Linked DNA regions of Homo sapiens: region 1 is linked to region 2. Evidence: promoter capture Hi-C in human tissues and cell types (Jung and others, 2019). All regions are on one chromosome and are shown on one strand. The core of a region is centred on a gene start or on the middle of the fragment in contact, and the rest is flanking DNA. Distances in the headings are between cores, read along the strand shown. Region 1 overlaps STX8 (syntaxin 8). Region 2 holds the start of PIK3R5 (phosphoinositide-3-kinase regulatory subunit 5).

Evidence for each region. Contacts are between HindIII fragments. The study calls those that stand out against the background at their distance.
Region 1: a contact is called between a fragment that was not itself captured here and the fragment with the promoter of PIK3R5 in region 2, in 1 of the 25 tissues and cell types used here (thymus).

The regions. Positions count from the first base shown.
Region 1 is chr17:9,369,572-9,373,696 of GRCh38, forward strand. All of the region lies in intron 7 of STX8 (syntaxin 8), which reads right to left. Among named protein-coding and RNA genes, the nearest start is that of STX8, 200 kb to the right of the region's middle. The HindIII fragment of the contact is 5,571 bases long and covers 1-4,125 here.
Region 2 is chr17:8,964,067-8,967,869 of GRCh38, forward strand. PIK3R5 (phosphoinositide-3-kinase regulatory subunit 5) reads right to left here and starts at 1,641. Exons shown (of 19, transcript NM_001142633.3): 1 at 1,530-1,641. PIK3R5-DT (PIK3R5 divergent transcript) reads left to right here and starts at 1,781. Exons shown (of 3, transcript NR_184080.1): 1 at 1,781-1,937; 2 at 2,701-3,775. RefSeq lists silencers at 1,565-1,884, 1,955-2,054. The HindIII fragment of the contact is 11,271 bases long and covers 1-3,803 here.

The DNA.
Region 1 (4,125 bases), core at 596-3,095, 410 kb after region 2:
ATAAGGTTCAAAAGAGCTAATATGATAAAAAGCATGTTGGTCAGGCACAGTGTCATACATCTGTAATCCCAGCACTTTGGGAGGCTGAGGCAGGCAGATCGCTTGAGTCCAGGAGTTTGAGACCAGCCTGGGCAACATGGTGAAATCCTGTCTATAAAAAATAAAATAAAAATTAGCCAGGCATGACGGCGAGTGCCTGTAGTCCCAGGTACTCAGCAGGCTCAGGTGGGAGGCTCACTTAAGCCTGGGAGGTGGAGGTTGCAGTGAGTGCCACTGCACTCCAGCCAGGATGACAGACCAGACAGACCCTGTACCAAAAAAAAAAAAAAAAAAAAAAAAGAAAGAAAAAAGAAAAAAAGCAAGCCAGGTGCGGTGGCTCACACCTGTAATCCCAACACTTTGGGAGGCTGAGGCAGGCAATCACTTGAGGCTGGGGGGTTGAGGCCAGCCTAAGCAACATGGTGAAACCCCGTCTCTACTAAAAAATACTAAAATTAGCCAGGCATGGTGATACACACCTGTAATCCCAGCTAATTGGGAGGCTGAGGCAGGAGAATCACTTGAACTCAGGAGGCGGAGGTTGCAGTGAGCCGAGATCACACCATTGCACTCCAGCCTGGGCGAAAGAGCAAGACTCCATCTCAAAAAACAAAAATGAATTAAACCCCACATCTTATCATAGCTGGCATTTATAAAGGACTCACTAGTACTAGTCATTGTGCCACCTAACTGTTCTCACTTAGTCTACAGAACAATCACATGTACTACTAATTGCTATCCTCCTTTTAGAGTGAAGGGAACTGAGACTTAGAGAGGGCAAGCAGCTCTCTAAGTCACCCAGGCTGTAAGTGGCAGATCCCAAATTGTGCCCCAGGACTGTCGGACGCCACACCTGTGCTGCATGCTACTACTCTTAACCAGGGTCCTGCCCCACCTCCCTAAGAAGATCACATTCAGATGAGCTGAAGGCAGATCCAATGGTCGTCGATTGAGACAGCATTAATGCAATGTCAGCTGGGTTGATTTCTAACCACATCACTGAAACACTACTAAAATCACAATAAACGTGCTTAGACAACATTACGTAATAGTCAATATGCTGAGAAGCAAGACTGTACATCCACCCGAGTCATTCAGAATTCTTAGTCTGGTCTTTCACAATTGGCGCCCTCTGTCAGACTCAGACAAGGCTCTATTTTGAATTCTAATGAGGACCAAGCACACTGAATATTTAAACTGCAATTACAAAGATCCTACTTTTATGTAAATGTCCTTAATGGAAGTAACAGATCTGAAAATACATAGAGGTACCAGTGGAAAAATATCAGTCTAATTTGCATTTAGAAGCTAGAAAAAAAAAAAAACAGTATTGTTTTCTACTTGATGCTATCATTGGGGTGGGGTTGAGGGAGGAAAAGGGAGGAAAATCCACACAAAAATCTCGGTAAAAATTTTAAAGCCTGTGCTCCTGAGTGAAAGGTTCACAAAGAGGTACTTGAATCCCTTGTTAAGAACTGAACAAACAAATTCATCATCGGGCCTCTCTCCTGTGTGGCCCCTTGCAGTTCAGTCTGTATTCATAACTAGAAATTCTCTCACTGCTCAAGCATCTATGACTGATACATCGGCCCATCAAGGAAGATATGCCAAGGGTAGCGAAACAAAAGGCCATTTCATGATTCACAACCTATTTTTACACTCCTTTGTGTAAAATGATGATGTGGCGGCTGCTATCCACACTGCACCCAAGTCCTCTTAAACAGTGATAGAATTGCCCTGTGAATGGTAATTGAGTTACACTCCACTGGGCTGCTTAATTCCCACCCCCTATAGTTAAAGTACACCTTGCTTGCAGTTTGATTATGCATTTGTATGTGTTCATATATAAAACAGCCAATGTGGCTTTGCACTTGAGAAGAGCAGGTGGTTAACTCTTCGCTGTATCTCGAAGCTCTTGCACCAACCCTCTGCCCCTCAAACGCCTTTCTTATTAAGATCATAATTTAACTGCCTAGCATTTGGGCATTCTCTTCAAGATGCTAACATTTATCAAATGGATTATGCTTTTTTTTTTTTTCTTTCTTCTGGTTTGTCCTCTGGTTGATTCTTTCTTCTGCTGATACCAAATATGTTCACTGGATTTTTTAATTTCAGTTACCTGTTATTTCTAGAAGTTCTATCTGGTCCCTTTTCAAAATTTCTGTGTTACTTATTATAGTTTTCGGGTTTCTTAAGATGCTTTCAAGCTTGTCATTTTTAAAATATATTTTAAAAAGTGGAATTGAGTTTATAATCAACGTCTGATAATTCTACTACTGCAATTCTGTTCAGATTCATGTCCATGGTCTATTGCTGGTCCTCACTCATGCTGTGCTGTTTCCGGGTATGCTAGAATATATTTGACTATGTGCTGGTCATTGCCCTTAGAAATTTATTTTTAGTTGGCTCCTAGCATCCTAGAATATGCTTTCCTCCAGAGGCATTTCATTTGTTTTTGCCAGGCACCTCGAGCTATAACAGGTGAGTCTGCCTCAAACCAAATTCATGGTATGATGTTTCCCGGTCTACCCTGAGTATGTATGTCCAGGGGGCAAATTCACATGTGGGCCTTTCTGTGACCACAAGTTGTCAATACTGTATTTTCCCTCCCGTCTTTTTCTTCTCCTATTCTGCTCAGTGCCAACGCTGCCCTTTCCACAACCCCCCATGGTAAGTTTAGTTCTGGTTCACTTTTACTCTGAGGGTGTAGCTCTTTGGGGTCCCAGTTTCTTGTGGGAAGGGTCTCCCATGACATTTCCTAATTAGAGTGGGTGCCCAGGGACTAAATTTCCACCCCATTTGCCTGCCCCTCTCAGGCTACAGAAGTGTCTGGCTTTATCAGATTAAAAAAATTATTTTTATTTTTATTTATTAATTTTTTTTCTGAGATGGAGTCATGCTTTTTTGCCCAGGCTGGAGTGCAGTGGCATGATCTCGGCTAACTGCAATCTCTGCCTCCCGGGTTCAAGCGATTCTCCTGCCTCAGCCTCCCAACTAGCTGGGATTACAGGCACGCACCACCACGCCTGGCTAATTTTTGTATTCTTAGTAGAGACAGGGTTTCAACATGTTGGCCAGGCTGGTCTTGAACTCTTGACCTTGTGATCCACCCGCCTCGGCCTCCCAAAGTGCTGGGATTACAGGCATGAGCCACCACGCCCAGCCCTCATTTTTTTTTTTTTTTTTTTTTTAAGGAAAATACTGAAAAGTGGGCCAGGCGCGGTGGCTCACGCCTGTAATCCCAAAACTTTGGTAGGCTGAGGTGGGCAGATCACCTGAGGTCAGGAGATCGAGACCAGCCTGACCAACATGGAGAAACTCTGTCTTTAACAAAAATACAAAAATTAGCCCAGCGTGGTGGTGCATGCCTGTAATCCCAGCTACTCAGGAGGCTGAGGCAGGAGAATAGCTTGAACCTGGGAGACGGAGGTTGCAGTGAGCTGAGGTCATGCCATTGCACTCCAGCCTGGGAAACAAGAGCAAGAAGACTCCATCTCAAAAAAAAAAAAAGAAAAGAAAAGAAAAAGAAAAAGAAAAAGAAAATACTGGAAAGTACCTAAGAGTTTAGAGGCTGAAAGCAAAACCAAGCCAGGCTAATATGAAGGTTCCTCAAACATTTAAAAACTGAATTACCATTTTATCCAACAACTCCACTTCTGTATATATACACAAAAAAGGAAAGACTTGAGCAGCTATTTGTACAGCAACATTTATGGTGGCATTATTCACAATAGCCAAAAGGTGGAACAACCTGTGTCCACTGACAAATGGATAAACAAAATGTGATATATACATAAAATGGAATTATTATTCAGCCTTACAAAGCAATGAAATTCTGATACACACTACAACATGGATGAATCTTGAAGACATCACCCTAAATAAGCCAGATATAAAAGTATACATATGATCCCGCTTACAATAGGTACCTAGAATAATCATATCTACAGAGACAGAAAGTAGAAAAGTAGTTACCAAGGGCTGAAAGAGGGAGGAATAGGGAATTATTGTCTTGGATAAATTTCAGTTTGGGATGTTAAAAAAAGTGGCTGGGCGCAGTGGCTCACACCTGTAATCCAAGCACTT
Region 2 (3,803 bases), core at 391-2,890:
AGCCGTTCTCATCATACATGCCTCACTTAATTTTCCACACTGGGCCAGGCACAGTGGCTCATGTCTATAATCCCAGCACTTTGGAAGGCCAAGGTAGACGGATCGCTTGAGCTCAAGGAATTTGGGACCAACCTGGGCAACATGGCAAAACCCTGCCTCTACAAAAAATACAAAAATTAGCTGGGCGCCGTGGTGCTGACCTGTAATCCCAGCTACTTGGGAGGCGGAGGCGGAGGATTGCTTGAGCCTGGGAATTTAAGGCTGCAGTGAGCCATGATCACGCCACTGCACTCCAGCCTGAGTGACAGAGCAAGACCCTGTCTCAATAATAATAATAATAATAATTCCACACAGCTCTATGGGTCAGTATGACAGCCCATTTTATGAATCAGGAGACTGAGGCTGGGTTGGGGGACAGTGTGATGCTGCAGGTCACACAGCTGGATCCGGTTGGAACTTGGGTCTCTTTTCCACATCATGCATGGTTCCCAAGCAACGGCTTCAGCATCATCACTTAAGGAGCTCATTCAAAGTTTTGAAAACTACAGATTCCAGATCCCATCCCTGGAAAGCCACGTTGTAGGGTTGGCTCCAAGAGAGCCCTACCTGCAGTCAGCTCTGGGAGCCAGTGCCTTACAGGTGGTCCTGAGGGCAGGAAGGAAAGTGTGGGGTGGATGAGAAGACACAGAAGGAAAACGAGGGTGTCAGTCCAGAGAGGACCTTGGAGGCAGGCTTGGCCTACTTTTAGCCCTTATTCTGCCTAAACCCACCCCTCCTCTCTACTCCGAGTCTTGTTAACTCGCTTTATACCACATCCTGCTGCTTTAACCTCGCCTTCCTTTTCCTTCTGAACAATCTCCTTCCTCCTACTGACCTGAACTTTTTGTGTATTTACCCCAGGCCGGGATGGGCCAGCACGCGCACATGCGCATGCCCACACACACACACACACACACACACACACGAGTCACGCGGGGATGTCCAGTGTGTAAACACAGATCCTCTGAGAGCAGAAAGCGTGCAGTTCTCTAGGACAGCAGCCGCGTCTGGGCCCAAGGCTGGCTAACTAGCAGGCTGAGTGAGGCTCGACGGAGGGCGCCTTACGCGGGCACTTCCATGACTCCCAGGTTCTGACGGCACAAGAGCCCTGATGCCCACGCTCACGGACAGTTCCCCGCTGGAGCGGGCAGGGGACCTGACCCTACGACACAGGGCGTCCTGTGTCAGAGGCAGGAGGCTGAGGACACAGCTGCGCAGAGCCGCCCAGCAGAGGTTACCCGGATAACGATAAGTGGTCCCCGCGACGCCCCTTAAGTCTCTGGGGTTATCTGGAGCGCAGGTTTGCAGACCCGCTGCCCCCGCGGTGGGCCAGGTCCACGGGGCCGGAAGATAGCAGGATCTGTCCAGCCCTCGGGCTGCGGCGGCTGCTCGCGGAGCCCACTCTCCCCGACGGTCCCCAGCTTGCTCCAGCTCTGCCTGGAGCTCCCATGCGTGCCCTCCGCATCCGCCCTGGCCGCCCAGTCACACACCTGCAGTCCCCGCCGGGCGCCGAGCCCCTCTCCAGCGGCGACTCCCTGCGATTCGGGTGACCGTCGGGACCACCGCGCCCCAGCTGGAGCCGCGCGGCGAGCCGCAGCATCTGCCCAGCCTGGGCTCCTCCGGCGGGCGGGGCGGAGCCTGTCAGGGGGCGGGGCCTAATGGGGCGGGGCTGACCGCGGAGCCGGCCTCTCCAGCCACCTGGCGGCCCGGCAGCGTCAGCCAGGTGCGCGCCCGGCCCCACATCCTCTGGGTCACGCCCCCGAGGCCGCAAGGCGTCTGAGAAGCAGCCCCGGCTCTGACCCGCCAGCCCTCGGAAGAAGCAGACCCTGGCCGGTCCATGGCAGTGGCCCGAGGGGCACCAGCGCGGAGCACCAGCGACCCCCAAGGAGTAAGGGGAGGTTAGGCCCCCGCGTCGGAAGCGCGGCTTTGGCCCCGCAGGAGGGCTGGGCGGAGCAGGGGGGCAGGTCTGGGGTAGGGGCTTAGGGGAAAGACGAGAAAGAGGAAGCTCCGACGAGCTGCTTCCTTCTCTCACTGCGACCCACTTCCTCTTCCTACTTCTATTTTCTTTCTTTTTTTTTTTTTTTTTTTTGAGATGGAGTCTCGCTCTGTCGCCAGGCTGGAGTGCAGTGGCACGATCTTGACTCCCCACAACCTCCGCCTCCCGGGTTCAAGCGATTCTCCTGCCTCAGCCTCCCGGGTAGCTGGGACTACAGGCGCGCGCCACCACGCCCAATTTTTTGTATTTTTACTAGAGACGGGGTTTCACCATGTTGGCCAGGATGGTCTCGATCTCTTGACCTCGTGATCCGCCCGCCTCGGCTTCCCAAAGTGCTGGGATTACAGGCGTGAGCCACTGCGCCCGGCCCCTACTTCTATTTTCTTTGGGTGCCCTTAACCCTTAAAATGCCTGCACTACTGCTGTGCAGACGGGCACCTTGACCCGCATCCTTCTGCAGGAACCTTCATAGAAATACCAGCCAGTCCCGGCGTTCAGCACTGCTGTTCCAGCCTCTGGCTGGACTTCCCGCCCTCCCTGGCCGGCACCAAGGCTACTGTCACCTGAGTGGTTTCCCCAGCCCCTGGGGAAGGGAGTGAGGGTGTGCGGGAGTTCCTGCCTCCAGGGTCAAGGCCCTCTTCTTGCCTCCCCCTTTTCTCCCCCAGACGACGTTGCAGATGATGCTCTACCAAGAGTTGGAAGGACTCCCCAGGGAATCCCACAAGACACTGCGCTTCCTATGCCTCCTTTCCCTCGTTTAAAAAATGGGGATAAGAAGGTTGGCTACTGCTCCGACAGCCCTCACAATGGAAGAGTAGCACTTCATTTGTGGGTTAACAAAGGGCAACGCTGAAATCTCCACTTCCACTATTGAATGGAACTGTGTCATAATATCTGTTAGAGGCGTGCAAACTCGGCCACAAGGTCATGGTCATACGTTATTGTTGGTCAAAAGCCGCAGCCCTACCTGAGGCTTTGAGAGATATGAACACCAATGACTTTTCTTTTCCTGACTCCCGAAATACCAAGAAAAAGCAACTTCCCCAAATGGACAGAAACAGAAAGTACCCTTGGTTGAACACAGAGGCCTGGTTCCAGCCATCGTTAGACGTGGGAAGGAACTCAGACCCCCTCTCCTACCTCATCCCCAACCCCTTCCCCACACGTCACCCTTTCACAGAGAAGGAACCAGAGCCACCAAGGGCTGAGAGAGGACTTGATAAGGATTCCAGTCTTCTGTCTCCCCTGTCCCCACTTTTTCCACCACAAAAATATGGACATTTGGAAGAAGAGGAGAAGAGGGAAGGTACACACTGTGCAAAGGAAGAAAATGGCAGAAATGCTCTGGAATCAGGAATTCAGGAGCAAGAATGACACTGTGTGCCAGATGGAAATGTTGGATTAGGAGAGCACTTGGAAAGGCAAATAATCTGCCAGAGAAATTATGGGATGCCTGCCTTCTGAAAATGGAGGAAAACTGCAAAAGAGTGGCTCATTGGTGCTCACTCCTAGGGCTCTGAGCATCCCAAGAAGCCAACTTGGTCCCATCGTACATCCCCTCAGAAGTAGGCATTCTCCTCTCCACCTACAGCTGTGGCCCAGATGTGGAGCCTGCATGTTATGCCACGCCGTCAACACTGAGTTCTGTCTGCGTCTCCCTGTCACAGATCTGATCAGCACCTGACACCTATCCATTCTCCATTTCCCACCTCCCCAAAGCTGCTGGAAAAACTCTGAAAGGTACCTCTGTCACTCATTAAGCATCTGA